2 separate regions of the Homo sapiens genome follow, and region 2 is linked to region 1. Evidence: promoter capture Hi-C in 16 types of primary human blood cells and fetal thymus (Javierre and others, 2016). All regions are on one chromosome and are shown on one strand. The core of a region is centred on a gene start or on the middle of the fragment in contact, and the rest is flanking DNA. Distances in the headings are between cores, read along the strand shown.

Evidence for each region. The method cuts DNA at HindIII sites, captures the fragments that hold promoters and counts their contacts. A CHiCAGO score of 5 or more calls a contact.
Region 2: a contact is called between a fragment that was not itself captured here and the fragment with the promoter of MRTFA in region 1, in 13 of 17 cell types (endothelial precursors, total CD8 T cells, total CD4 T cells and 10 more). The highest score is 8.6, in endothelial precursors.

What each region holds. Positions count from the first base shown.
Region 1 is chr22:40,633,373-40,640,504 of GRCh38, forward strand. It overlaps MRTFA (myocardin related transcription factor A), which reads right to left and starts at 3,347. Exons shown (of 15, transcript NM_020831.6): 1 at 3,106-3,347. RefSeq lists a silencer at 2,802-3,111 and enhancers at 3,372-3,681, 4,421-5,620. The HindIII fragment of the contact is 6,464 bases long and covers 355-6,818 here.
Region 2 is chr22:40,431,642-40,438,491 of GRCh38, forward strand. MRTFA (myocardin related transcription factor A) reads right to left here. Exons shown (of 15, transcript NM_020831.6): 5 at 3,858-3,913. Among named protein-coding and RNA genes, the nearest start is that of SGSM3, 64 kb to the left of the region's middle. RefSeq lists enhancers at 4,650-4,709, 4,970-5,099, 5,220-5,269, 5,340-5,389. The HindIII fragment of the contact is 992 bases long and covers 3,471-4,462 here.

The sequences.
Region 1 (7,132 bases), core at 2,097-4,596:
GTATATGAGCTTGCCACAGTGTTTTCTCGAAATATAATACAACGATCTTTGTTAATACAACTTAAAAATTCTAAATTTCCCTTTGTAAATTAAATGGCTGTAAATCTACAAATCGTTTTTTAAATACACTTAAATAAGTATTTAAGCTGCACTCTCAAAGAAAGTTTATACCTGTTTAACAAAGTTAGTAAAGTGCTTCATATGGAATCTGTATATATCAATGTACTCCATTTTTACTGAATGTTCCCACAGGCCATACTTTTTAGGAAATATCACCAAATTTATAAGTATAAAATATATAAATAAAGATAGCCTTTATTTATTATATTGCCATATATAAAGCTTATAAAGATAAGCTTTATTTATTATATCGCCTTAGTGACTAAATCAAATATGAAACATTTCACAGAAAGTAACTTGCAATAGATGTAGTAAAATGATAATAATGATAATATGGGTAGAACTTTCTAACCTCTTTCATATTTACCTCTACAAAAGCATGTTAAAAGGAACCGTATACCATACTTTTAAGTCAGAGATTCAAGTCCTGGTTCTGTTAACTTCTGTATCCCTAAATGAGTTATTTAACTAGTTGCAGCCTATTTCCCTATCCTAAAGCAACACAATCAAAGCCTAGCTTTTATGTAGTGGGCATCAAGGAATGTTAGTTTCCTTCTCCCTTCCTGGGGCTTATAACTGGTATATCAGAAGATTTATCAGGATTTTTTTTTTTTTTTGAGACAGGGTCTCACCGCACATTCAGGATGGAGGGCAGTGTGAACATAGCTTACTGCCACCTCAAACTCCTGGGCTCAAGGGATCCTCCAGCCTCAGCCTCCTGAGTAGCTGGGACTACAGGTGCAAGCCACCACGTCTGCTAATTCTTTAACTTTTTTGTGGAGACAAGCTATCATTATGTTGCCCAAGCGGGTCTCAACTCGAACTCCTGGCCTCAAGTGATCCTCCTGCCTTGGCCTCCCGAAGTGCTAGGATTACAGGCGTAAGCCACTGTGCCCCGCCTATCAGGAAAACTTTCCAAGCTGTTATTTCTCTTTGGAATTTCCTCTCCTTCATCTGAGTTAACATTCAGCTCAAATGCCATTTTCTTTGAAGCCTTCCCATACATCCACAGGAAAAGCTCCCTTGACTCTCCCAGTGAAGTCTGGATTTAGAGTGTATTTCAGCGCGTTACAATCATCTGTCATTTTTTGCCTCTCCCACTAGACTGTGAGCTCCTCATGAGCAGGGACCATATCTCACTTATCTTGACAGCCCCAGCCCTTAGAAAAACACCTGGCACGTTACAAACATGGAACAAAAAGTCTGTTGAATGAATAAATGAAGTCATCCCTTAAGTAGTACTTGTAATTACTAACGGGTGACCCAAACTTTATGGTTTTGCCCTTTATAGGCTGAGATTCTATTTCATACTCTTTTTAATCACTCCCTAATAGCATCTGGCAGAGTACTAAGGACATGGAAACTCTCCAATAAATACTTTTGGGTGATGGGATACATATTACTCTTCCACCTCTCTTGATTTGACTCTAAATAACTTATTCAAGTGGATGTGACTTTTGGAAGCCTTCTTAAAAACGGGCTCTTCTTAATAGTTATTGGCCAAAAACTGAAACAAACACTAGAGCTAAACTACAGATATTTTTTTCTTTGCAGGTGTTTTTAAAGAACGCAGTAATGGATTGCTTCTTTCTAAATCATTTCAATAAGAAACAGTAACATAAAGCCCTTTGGTTCGCTATGAAAAATGCAAACGACATTAAGCAAAACTTAGTTTAATAACTTCCAGCCAAAGGTTCCCCACCCTGCAGTCATAGGGCTGTGGGCCAGCTGGCTGTACCACCTCACCCCCGGGAGATGACTGCTTTTCAACAGTAAAACTGCGTAAGTGACATTTGGAGTTTTGGGGGTCTTCTGAAGTAAAACATGTAGGTCTAACTTCTTACTGACAATAAGTCTTAACGTTACAGGCTTCGGCTTGATGTAGAAAGGACCCTGAAAAGATCTCAAAAACTTGCAACTCGGGGACATTCCAGACGTCTTATGAGTTTAAAACTATGTAAAAACATACGAAGCATGGGGTAATTCCATTATTATATTTAAGTGATGTATTCCACATTCCTGTATATACACACACTTCATGCCAAACAGAGGCTGGCAAGCAAGTTAACCATTCAACTGCCCTTTCGTTATGCTGCATAACAGGGAGACAACAGAGAGAAATCTTGACAATGCCAAGCTGGGCTAGTGCTTAAAGGCACACAGGCAAACCAGGCATTCTCAACATCCCAAAAGCAAACATTTCTTGGGCCCTTACTATGGGCCAAGCACTGTGTCAAACGCTTCACGTGAATTATTTCATTCGACACTTACAACAAACAACCGTATGCGATTGGTGCTATTATCCTCATTTTTCAGACGAGGAAACCAAGGCACAAGATTACACAGCTAGCAAGTGGCAGGTTTGGGAGTCGACTCAAAAGGTCCAGCCCTAGGCACTATGGAGTATCAAAGGTACCCGAAGCGGGGAGGGTGGACTGCATCAGCGTCCTGACAGACGCTTTCTTAGGAGGTAAAGTTCTTGGCCATCAAGTTTCAGATTTGCAGAGCCCTGTACACCTGGCAGCATTCAGGTTTGCTATACTGGCACCAACAAGTCCAGCTGAGCCTCCTTGCCTGGGAATCCCAAGGACTGCACTTGGATCCTGAAGGTCTGCACAAGACCCCAGAGAAAGCGGCCGACACCCCGTCCCTGCAATCAAAACACATCCCGGGAGAAGCGAGGGCGAGGACCTCCGTGCCTCCCCGCCCCGCGCAGCACAGCCCTGCCAGGCAGTGCACAGGTGCACGACCGCGCCCGCCCGCCCGGCCCGGCCCGGGTCCCAGCCCCGGCACAGTGACCGCCGCTCTGCGACTCCGGCCCCGAGGGCAGGGGCAGAAGGCCGGCAAGAAGAGGGCAGGGGACGCGAGGGCCGCCTCGCCCGACCCCCCGAGGACGCGCGCAGCAGGGTCGGGGGGGAAAAAGGATGCTCCAGGCGGGGCGAGGCCGCGGTGGGGGAGGGGTCCCCAACCCGGACTCTCACTCACCGCCTCGCGCGGCTCCCGGCCGGGTTCCGCGGCTCGCCCCACTCCGGCTCTAGCCGCCCGCGTCTCCTCTCGAGGCTCACTGTCCAGCCCGGGCGCACGGAGCTGAGAAGTCGCCGCCAGCGGAGGGCGTGTGGCCAGCGGCAACCAAGAGGGTGGGAAAGATGGGACCGTCGCTCTCGCCGCCGCGGCCACCACAGACACTGCCGCCGCCGGCTCCTCTCAGCCACGGAAGCTGCGGGCCCGCCCACCACGCCCGCCTCCCGTCCTGAAGACTGTCCGCTGGAGAAGTGACGGCGGCGCTAGCCAATCAGAGGCCTGATCGGGGTCGTGATCGGCGGACTAAAGGGCGGGCGGAGAAGGAAGCGGCATGAAGAAGGCGAAAACGGCGGCCTGACTTCCTGTGACTGACGGCACGGCGCAGCCAATGGGCAACGGGGAGATGACCTCATCTCTGAGGAAAGTCTGGAACTGGCTGAGCTGCGGCGAGGGGGTTGGCGACGAGCCGGGGGCGGAGCTCTGGGCCTTAAAGAGGCCGCAGCCCTGTGGTCACCCTGTGAAGGGAAGGGCGGTGGACCCTGCCGGATCTTGCGAAGTTGCCAAGGGGTCAATGCCCAGGCGCGAGTAATTACTGCATTAATCCCAGACCCCATCCCGATTCTTGTCGGGGACTGAAGGGTCTCCGCCTGGGGCTCCGAAGTCGATCATTTCACATTCACGCTTCCCAAAACGAGACACAATAAATTCCGCTCTGGCCTGGAGCCTTGAATTCCCGTTACGGTCCCGCCCCGCCGAGGCCCGTCGCCTTGTTTCTCTGAGTCAGTTTCCCCAACGGTGAAAGGGAGGACGCTGACACCTGCCTGCCCCTCCCTATCTGCCGAGGCCGTGGAGATCAGCAGCAGCGAAAGCGCTCTGGGCTTAGAAGAGGAAAAGGGCTGCGTGAGCCCAAGAGCTTGCATCGGAAGGCTCCAGGAAGAGCATCTGCAAAAAAGAGGATTCCACGGGATGACCCCCGACAACTCTTGGAATTCTAAAATCCTATACCCTTGCCCGCACCCATTCGTGTAGTGAAGGGGCGCGCGTTAGGCGCAGAGGCCACACGCTCCGCAAGTGAACCCGGGCACCTCTCTGAACCTATTCCGGGCTGAGGGCGGGGAGCGGGTGGCTGCCCGATTTAAAAACATGTATATGTATGTGTATGTGTATGTGTATGTGTATGTGTATGTGTATGTGTATATGTATATGTATATGTATATGTATATGTATATGTATATGTATTATGAGTGAAGTCCATGACTGCAACAGGGAGAAAGGAGAAAGGCGAAAGGGGAGAGAGCAACAAGGTAAGCCAGGCCCACTGTGATGACAGCTGCGGTCATGCAGGCCCTTCGTATCCGCCTTCCTCCCCAGCAATGGGAGAGAGCCCAGAAAAGGAGAAATAACCCCAACTCGATGGGGTGGAAAAGGGGGAAGCGCTTTCCGGAAGGCTTCCGGGATGGGGTCACCAGAGTCAGAGGAAGGAGTAACAGTAGATAGAAGAAGAAGTGGTCAGGGGCGTTCTTCTAGGTTTGGGGCGGACCCGCGTGAAGATGCAAAGACTGAAAAGGGGCGGCTCACTTTACATTCCAAGGTAAATTCTCACTATGACCCCCTTTTCCCCATCAAAGGCTTCTGGGACTGCCCATGGGTGAACTCAGAGGGAGGGTAGGAGAGGGTGCTGCTCTATCCAATGGCGGCAAAAGTCAAAGTGGCCTTGGGTATTCCCAATTACTCACTATAAATCAGCTTCCAATGCCGGTCGCAGAATCTTGGAGTTAGACGGGATCCTCGTGGGCTCTTAGTCACACACACCTTCCCCAAGGCAAAAATTCTTGCACAAAATACCTGATAAAATTATTTATTCGATAAATATTTTTTGAGTAAGAACACTGAGGGGGTAAGCTAGATGAGATACAGTCACTACCCTGGGGGTGCTTACACCAAACTGGAGGATGCTAAGGCACGTACTGCGGTGACTGCAATGCCAGGCCGGTATCCCAGGTGACTAAAACAGGATGCAGGCCGGGTGCGGTGGCTCACGCCTATAATCCCAGCACTTTGGGAGGTCGAGGCGGGCGGATCACGAGGTCAGGAGACCAAGACCATCTTGGCCAACACGGTGAAACCCCGTCTCTACTAAAAAACAGAAAAAATTAGCTGGGCGTGGTGGCGGGCGCCTGTAGTCCCAGCTACTCGGGAGGCTGAGGCAGGAGAATGGCGGAACCTGGGAGGCAGAGCTTGCAGTGAGCTGAGATCGCGCCACTGCACTCCAGCCTGGGCGACAGAGTGAGACTCCATCTCAAAACAAAAAACAAAAACAGGATGCAGTCCGGGCGCGGTGACTCACGCCTGTAATCCCAGCGCTTTGGGAGGCCGAGGCGGGCGGATCACGAGGTCAGGAGATCAAGACCATCCTGGCTAACACGGTGAAACCCCGTCTCTACTAAAAACAGAAAAAATTAGCTGGGCGTGGTGGCGGGCGCCTGTCAAGTCCCAGCTACTCGGGAGGCTGAGGCAGGAGAATGGCATGAACCCGGGAGGCGGAGCTTGCAGTGAGCCGAGATGGCGCCACTGCACACCAGCCTGGGCGACAGAGCGAGACTCCGTATTTAAAAAAAAAAAAAAAAAAGAGGATGCAGAAGTGCGCCTCGGAGGAGAAAGTACCCCCACTGGAATTATTGGGGTGGGGCAGATTTCCCCAAAACATGACCAAGGTGGGGCATTCCAGATAGTACCCACCCAGACACAGCCCTCCTTAAAAAGCCCAGGTAATGAGGAGGCACAAGTGTATTTTATTAGTCACAGGAAAAGAGATCTGCCCATTCATGGCAGAGACTGCAGGCAACCTCACCGTCTCACAAATATCTCTATACTTTTTCTGGACAACTTAAATTGTATACGTTTTATATACTATATATAGACACATATATATTTTGTGTATATATAAAGGGTTAGGCTGGATGTGGTGGCTCACACCTGTAATCCCAGCACTTTGGGTGGCCGAGACCAGAGGATCACTTGAGGTCAGGAGTTCAAGACCAGCCTGGCCAACATGGTGAAACCCCGTCTCTACTAAAAATACAAAAATGAACCGGGCGTGGTGATGCTCACCTGTAATCCCAGCTACTCGGGAGGCTGAGGCAGGAGAATTGCTTGAACCTGGGAGGCGGAGATTGCAGTGAGCCGAGATCCCACCACTGCACTCCAGCCTGGGTGACAGAGTAAGAGAGACTCTGTCTCAAAGAAAAAAAAAGCCAGGCGCGGTGGCTCACGCCTGTAATCCCAGCACTTTGGGAGGCCAAGGCGGGCAGATCACGAGGTCAGGAGATTGAGACCATCCTGGCTAACACGGTGAAACCCCGTCTCTACTATAAATACAAAAAATTAGCCGGGTGTGGTAGCGGGCGCCTGTAGTCCCAGCTACTCAGGAGGCTGAGGTGGGAAAATGGCGTGAACCCTGGAGGTGGAGCTTGCAGTGAGCCGAGATCGTGCCACTGCACTCCAGGCTGGGCGACAGAGTGAGACTCCGTCTCAAAAAAAAAAAAAAAAAGGGTTTATATATTTCTTATAGGTGGTCTGCCTCCCTCTAATCTCTGACCCCACTCCAGCCTGGGTAACTCTGAAAAAAAAAAGGAATAACATTATCTCTGACCCTAGATCCTAATGTTATCCTCTAAAGCTTCACCAAACATGTCTAATCCCACTTCACCCTCTTTCCCACACCCTCGACCCATCTCCACAAAACAGTAGGGAATAAGTCCCTTTTTCTTGCCATCAGGCCTCAGTGACTTCATGTCCTAATGACTTCATGCGGACATCCTTCAGGATCTATTGGCGACATGTGTTATTTGTGTCCTTCCCTGTAAACATTCTCTTTCTTTTGGTAAGAGAACTCCACTTTCCTCTGGGGAACTGTCAGAGGCGTTCGAACCAGGACTCCATCTTAAATAGGGGCTGGGTAAAATAAGGCTGAGACCTACTGAGTTGCATT
Region 2 (6,850 bases), core at 2,717-5,216, 200 kb before region 1:
GGGGAGAGCACACCAAAATCCAACTGCACCTGCCAAGGAAGGGCACCATCCTTCAAGACCATCTGTGTCTCTGAGGCTGGACTGACAATATATCTATTAAAAAACTATTACTTCTACTACCATAAAAGTAATATATGTCCAGCAAAAAACATTTAGAAAACTAGAAAGAAAAATAAAATAAAATAAACTTTAATCAGCCACTCTTAGTATTCTGGGATATCTGTTTCTAGTTATTCTTCCATGCAGAAAATAGGCTTAACTTTGCAGCGCTGTAATCACACTGAATATGATTTTATATCCTGCTTTAAGAAATGTAACATTGGGCCAGGCACGGTGGCTCAAGCCTGTAATCCCAGCACTTTGGGAGGCCAAGGTGGGTGGATCACCTGAGGTCAGGAGTTTGAGACCAGCCTGGCCAATGTGGTGAAACCCTGTCTCTACTAAAAATACAAAAATTAGCCAGATGTGGTGGCTGGCGCCTGTAATCCCAGCTACTTGGGAGGCTGAAGCAGGAGAATCACTTGAACTCGTGAGGTGGAGGCTGCAGTGAGCCAAGACTGCGCCACTGCACTCCAGCCTGGGCAACAAGAGCGAAACTCCGTCTCAAAAAACAAACAAAAAAAACCAAAAACCAAAAAAAAACCCCAAAAACCTGTAACACTGCATGATCTCATGGGCATTTTCCATTCATTTTGAATGGCTGCCAAATGGAATATGAATTTTGACACATGGTAGCAAAGCTCTAGTTCCTCAAAGTCCAATGTCCTAATTTCTGCATTTATGAGACTCTGGGCAAACTAAACCAGTCCCTCAACAGTCACAGAGCCATCCCACCAAACGGGGCTAATTATAATATATATATATTCCCCTGGACCTGACTCTATAGAGTCTGTGCTCTTAACCTCTGCACCAACATTTTCAAACCACAGAACATTAGTGGATCAAGACCAGCATAGGATAAGACAAGCCAAAGGACACTAGGCAATGAAGCCTCAGAGGACATTATATATAGTAAAGGTAAAGACTGGAAAAAAATGAAGAAAAAGAAAAAAAAAAAAAGACTTGTCCTCACCTAGCCATCTGCTGCCTTGTTGTTCTGGCTGGGCAGCTCTGTGCCAGCCCAGGGGAGGCTGAGCAATCCAGGAGATGGTTTAAAGTGACTGTGGGCTCTGGCTCTATCACCCCACGTGCAGTGGGCAGAAGTACTGCCTCAGCTGCAGCAGAGATTGGTAGAGCAGGTGCCGCAAGTCTTCACAGATGACAGTGGAAGACTTATTCTCTAAGCCATCTGAAGCTCTGACCAGTGGCCATGACTGAGGTAGAATATAGTACTGATTAAGAAAATATATGGAGGAGCTTCTGGTTTGTTAAAGGCATGGAGGTGCTAGGAGGGTGACACACCCACCTGGAGAGAGCACAAAAGCTCCTCATCCCTTCCCACATACCTACACATCTCTTCCACCTGGCTGTTCCTGAGTTGTATCCTTTGTGACAAATAGTAAACATATTAATGATGTCAAATGGCTGAAACCTGACTACCTAGAGGCTACTCTGGACTGGTTTAGAGGGTATAAGGTCTCTGATGGAAAACCAGAGAACTTTCAGGGCCAAATTTAAAGATACGGATTTTGCAACTGATATCATTAAAGGCATTCATGACCACTGAAGCACATTTGTGTCGAAGAAAACTGAGGGAACAAAATCAGTTTGACAAGGTACAGTGGTAGATGCCTACACATCCCAGCTATTCAGGAGGTCAAAGGCAGAAGGATTGCTTAAGCCCAAGAGTTGGGATTCAGCCTGGGCAACATAGCAAAATCCCACCTCTAAAATTACAAAAAAAGGAAAACAAAGCAATCAGTTGTGTAAATACAACAGCATCTCAGAGCCCCTCAAGTGTGATCCTGACATAGCTGAAGCCATTGTGGATGCTTTCCCACCACCATGTATAGCTGCCTTATGTAGCACGCACAGATGTGAGCAGCTGGTTCCAACACCAGAAAAAGAAATGAAACTTCTCTTGAATACGAGCTGATATTGCTGTGTCTTATTCATCTGGAAGTATGAGATGCAAAAGTAGCAGCTTTTCAAAGCTTTAAGCTTTTAGAATTAAGTAAAGCAAATTCTGCTATAACCAATCCAATATATTCATGTTTCATATCTCAACTAAGATAATTTTTAGTACATGTGTAAATATGGAAGTAGTTATTGTAATGTGGAAGTCATTTGTGAATAGATGTGCATGGTAAGCAAATTGAACGTTATGGTTACCATGTGTTAGGAAATAAAATCATTTTGCTCAAAAAAAATCTAGAATCCACAAAGGTTTGACTCCCAGCTTTGCCACTTATTGGCTGGACAAGTGAGTTAACTTCTCTTAGCTGCATCTATAAAATGAGGATAATACCACCTAATTCATAAGAGTTGATGTGAGGATAAAAAAGAAACAGATACAACCTCTTACATAAAGGTGCTCAATAAAACAGTCTCTTCTAATCAGCTCTGCTGGTCCCTGCCTATTTGAGAAGCAGTCAAGTAAATGGTGCCCAGTCTTCTGACCGAATAGGCGCACAGGCAACGCCATCCTTTCCCCCAACACTGTACTCTCCAGTGCTCTCAGCAAACTAAACCACTGCTGCTTGTTACTCCTTTGGTTCCCAGGACCCATGACCTCATTCTTTCCACTTACTCTAAGAATTAATCATGATTTTCTGGGGAGAGGGGAATGAAAGAAAGTTTAAAAAAAAAAAAAAAAAGTCTTGGAGGTAAATATTTCTGAGACTCTAAAATAGCTGTGAGGCTGGGTGTGGTGGCTCATGCCTGTAATCCCAGGACTTTGGAAGGGCAAGGCAGGCAGATCACTTGAGGCCAAGAGTTTGAGACCAGGCTGGCCAACATGGTGAAACCCCATCTCTACTAAAAATACAAAAATTACCCAGGCGTGGTGGCGGGAGCCTGTAGGTCCAGTTACTTGGGAGGCTGAGGCAGGAGAATCGCTTGAATCTGGTAGGCGGAGGCTGCGGTGAACTGAGATCACGCCACTGCACTCCAGCCTGGGTGACAGAGTGAGACTCCGTCTCAAAAAATAAAGTAAAATAAAATAGCCGTGGGTCTTAAGGAGATGCAGCCCATGATCTGTCTAGGGGGATTATCTTCCCATGATTTTATGTGAAAGGAAAAAGTAAAGGGAGTGTGAGGGGGAAGCAAGTTCTGGTGACTTCCCCATCTCTACCCACACTGGGCAGCAGAATATTCCTCAGGGGCCCCTGGGGAACCGAAACAGAGTTGGGATGGGGACGCAAGTAAGGTGCTGTGGCAGAAAACTTGGGCTTGGAGTGTGGGCCAGTTTCTGCTTTCCACAAGAGTCAAGTGGATACCACCTACTCTGGGCAGATGGAGACCAAGAAGGTTTCCTGCCCCTTGGAATGCCCGTCCTGTGAGGTGTGGCCAGTGTAACCCCGGACTTGGGAAGCTTTTCCATTGGCTAATGTTTGTGTCCCAACATCTACAAAACGTTAAGTGGAATTAAAGATGGGGAAATACCAGTGGTCTCCAAAGCACTCCAAAATTCAGGCAAGGAGGATCGGGTGATCATTCCATATCCTTAAATGTACAAAAAGAGAAACCTCATTCCAATCATGTTCCATATAATCACCATGGGAGGTAAATGAGAGAAGGGATGAAGTAGGAGAAGCAGAGCTTTCCATTTAAAACCACAAGGCCAGGGCTGGCCCTAGAGTCTAGCAGGCTCTGGCCTCAGAGTTCTATGGAAAGCTCTAAATGGAAATATAACCAGCAATGCAATGAGCTCTGAAAATGCTCTTTGGGAGTTCTGAGGGGGAAAAAAGGTACCTTACCCTGGCCCGCTCCAAGCTCCTTCTCTGCTCATGAAATGCGGCTGGACTTTTCAAAGCTGTTGAGAGAAGAACCGTAAAGATTACCTTCAAGCGAAGCATCATGTCTAGTGCTACGATATTCAGTGGAGAAGGCATCTTAAATTCATGTTACTGGCTGGGCGTGGTGGCTCACGCCTGTAATCCCAACACTTTGGGAGGCTGAGGCAGGCAGATCACGAGGTCAGGAGATCGAGACCATCCTGGCTAACATGGTGAAACCCTGTCTCTACTAAAAATACAAAAAATTAGCCAGGCGTGGTGGTGGTGGGCGCCTGAAGTCCCAGCTACAAGGGAGGCTGAGGCAGGAGAATGGCGTGAACCTGGGAGGCAGAGCTTGCAGTAAGCCGAGATTGCGCCACTGCACTCTAGCCTGGGCAACAGAGCGAGAAACCGTCCCCCAAAAAAAAAAAAAAAAAATCACATTACTGTTAGTAGTACTATAAATATCAGTTGAAGTGAAGGCAATGACACCTGAGTAAGCATGTATCTTTATGGTTTAGCTACCCCATTCAAACAGTTTTGGTAGAAACCAAAATATGACTCCTAATGGGAACTGTCACTGCCTAAGCTTGGGCTATATAAAGTGCACCCATGGAATGTAACTTTAACAAACACCCTGGCCCATGACTGGACCGTCAGCCGCAAATCCCCCTTCAGCTAGGACTCCAAGAACGCCTGCTAGGCCTCACATTATTCTCAGGACACCTGCACACAGGAAGGGGCACAGATGCATGCCAAATTAACCTTACTTCCTCAACCTCACGAGGAATCATAAAGTGGCCAAACTGTTTCAATGGGACAGTTAAAACCAAAAAGATATATGTCCACTCGGCACTATTTCCTTCTTCACTGCACCTGTTATTTATAGTGCTGCTAAAATTAACTTGAATTTCATCTCTAAGGACTAAAAGAACCCCATGGCAATTGTATGTGAAGGAACACACACAACCGACAGCTGAGACGAAGGGCTCAGCTCTATTCTGGGGATACCACACAAAGACCACAAGTCTCGACTTCTGCAAACAACACTCAGGTGGCAAGACCAAACCAAGAGCCTCCAGAAAGGCTGCACCATGAATGGAAGGTCTGACTCCTTTTGTCAAAAACTTGGCTGTAAGGACAAATAGCAACTTAAGACACTCTGAGGATGAGAGGGAAAGGCCTGACTCACTTCAAGTAGGGAACAGAGGCAATAAGAGAGAAATTTATAAGACTGTGGTCAGTTTCACTTCTCCTGCCCTAGAATTTCCAAAGAGCTGTGAAACTGCGAGCAGAGATAACTTTTGCTAGGCTGCTGGCTGCGGTAGGAGTGCAGGGTTAAGGAGCTGCTAAAAGTAGCAAGAGAGCATAGATAGGACCCTATCCTGCCTGGGCCGTTGTGCTTCTTCCTCCTTCCTCTCCACCCCCAGCGGGGGGCTGGGCCTCAGCAACAGCAGTCCCAGAAGAAAGCTTCAATTGTCCCAGTGGTATTTATTTTTAAAAATTTTTTGTGAATCTTAAGATAAAAAAGAAACTACAGTCTTAAAAGTACTACTGAGATCCCATCTTCTAACAGAAGGGGGAGCTCTAGATTTAACAAATAACATCAAAGAAAAACCAGTACAAGTTACCTCCCCAACCTACCTGGGCACTATCCAGGATTCCCCACTTCTTACATGGGCAGGTCGTGGGCATTTCAGTGGGTAAATAGACACCCCCTGCACCTGCTTCTACTGTGTAACGCTAGCTCAACTCCAAACGTCCTGCTCTGCAGGAACCCGGGTGTGATGCATCACACGTAACCTTGGCTCTTGGAAAGCTTAGCACATGCATGAGACAGTAAGTACAAAGAATCAAGAGAAAACGGACACTGTCCACCCCACCCCAGCTTCCTTTTCTGCCTCATTTTTCTCCGCAGCACTCATCACTGTCTTGACAGTCTTTATATAAATACTACGTATCTGGCTGGGCATGGTGGCTCACGCCTGCAATCCCAGCACTTTGGGAAGCCGAGGTGGGCAGATCATGAGGTAAGGAGTTCGAGACGAGCCTGGCCAACATGGTGAAACCCCGTCTCTACTAAAAATACAAACATTTTTGTACAGGCATGGTAGAGGGTGCCTGTAATCCCAGCTACTCAGGAGACTGAGGCAGGAGAATCACTTGAACTCAGGAGGCAGAGGTTGCAGTGCGCCAAGATAGTGCCACTGCACTCCAGCCTGGGAGACAGAGCAAGACTCCGTCTCAAAAAAAAAAAAAAAAGGCGGAATACTACATACTTTTCTTGTTTACTCTCAGTCTCCCACGTTTACATTTACAACATGTCCCCATCAGAGCACAGCAAGGGTTTTGTCTATTTTTTTAGTCACTCACAGCATTCCCCAAGTGCCTAGAATACCAGGCACACAGTATACCCTCAATAATTATTCACTCGATGAATTAGTGAGTATTCTGTAAGAAACGGACACAAGGTGACTAGTGACAGGAGGACAGGAGGATTCTGCGGCAGAGCTCTAAACTTTCATCTAAACAGCCAGAATTCTGGTTCTCAACCGGGTTCGAAACCTCACAGAAGTTCTGGATAGACAGTCAAGGGATCTGTGTTCTAGTACTGAGTGCTACCAATTACTGCTGGGTGACATGGGTTTTGACTGCTTTCTGGGTCTAATTTTCTTCCAGAGTGAGAATCTGCCCACCTCTCAGAACCCTTGTAAGGAAGAAACACCAGTGAGAGTGCCCTGAACCAAATGGTATATGTGTCGATATATTCAGGTGTTGCTGTCACCAAATGCTGTAATTTGGTTGAATCACTGGCTTGATTCACTTACAGGCCAGCTAGTTTCTGTACCACAGCCAGAGATTCTCTGTCTAAAACCCTGGCTGACTTGCTGCCTCAACAACCCACACTGGCTATCCCCAAAGGGTAAGGCACAAACCCAAAGGCACAAACCCAACTTCTAGAAGAACAATTCACC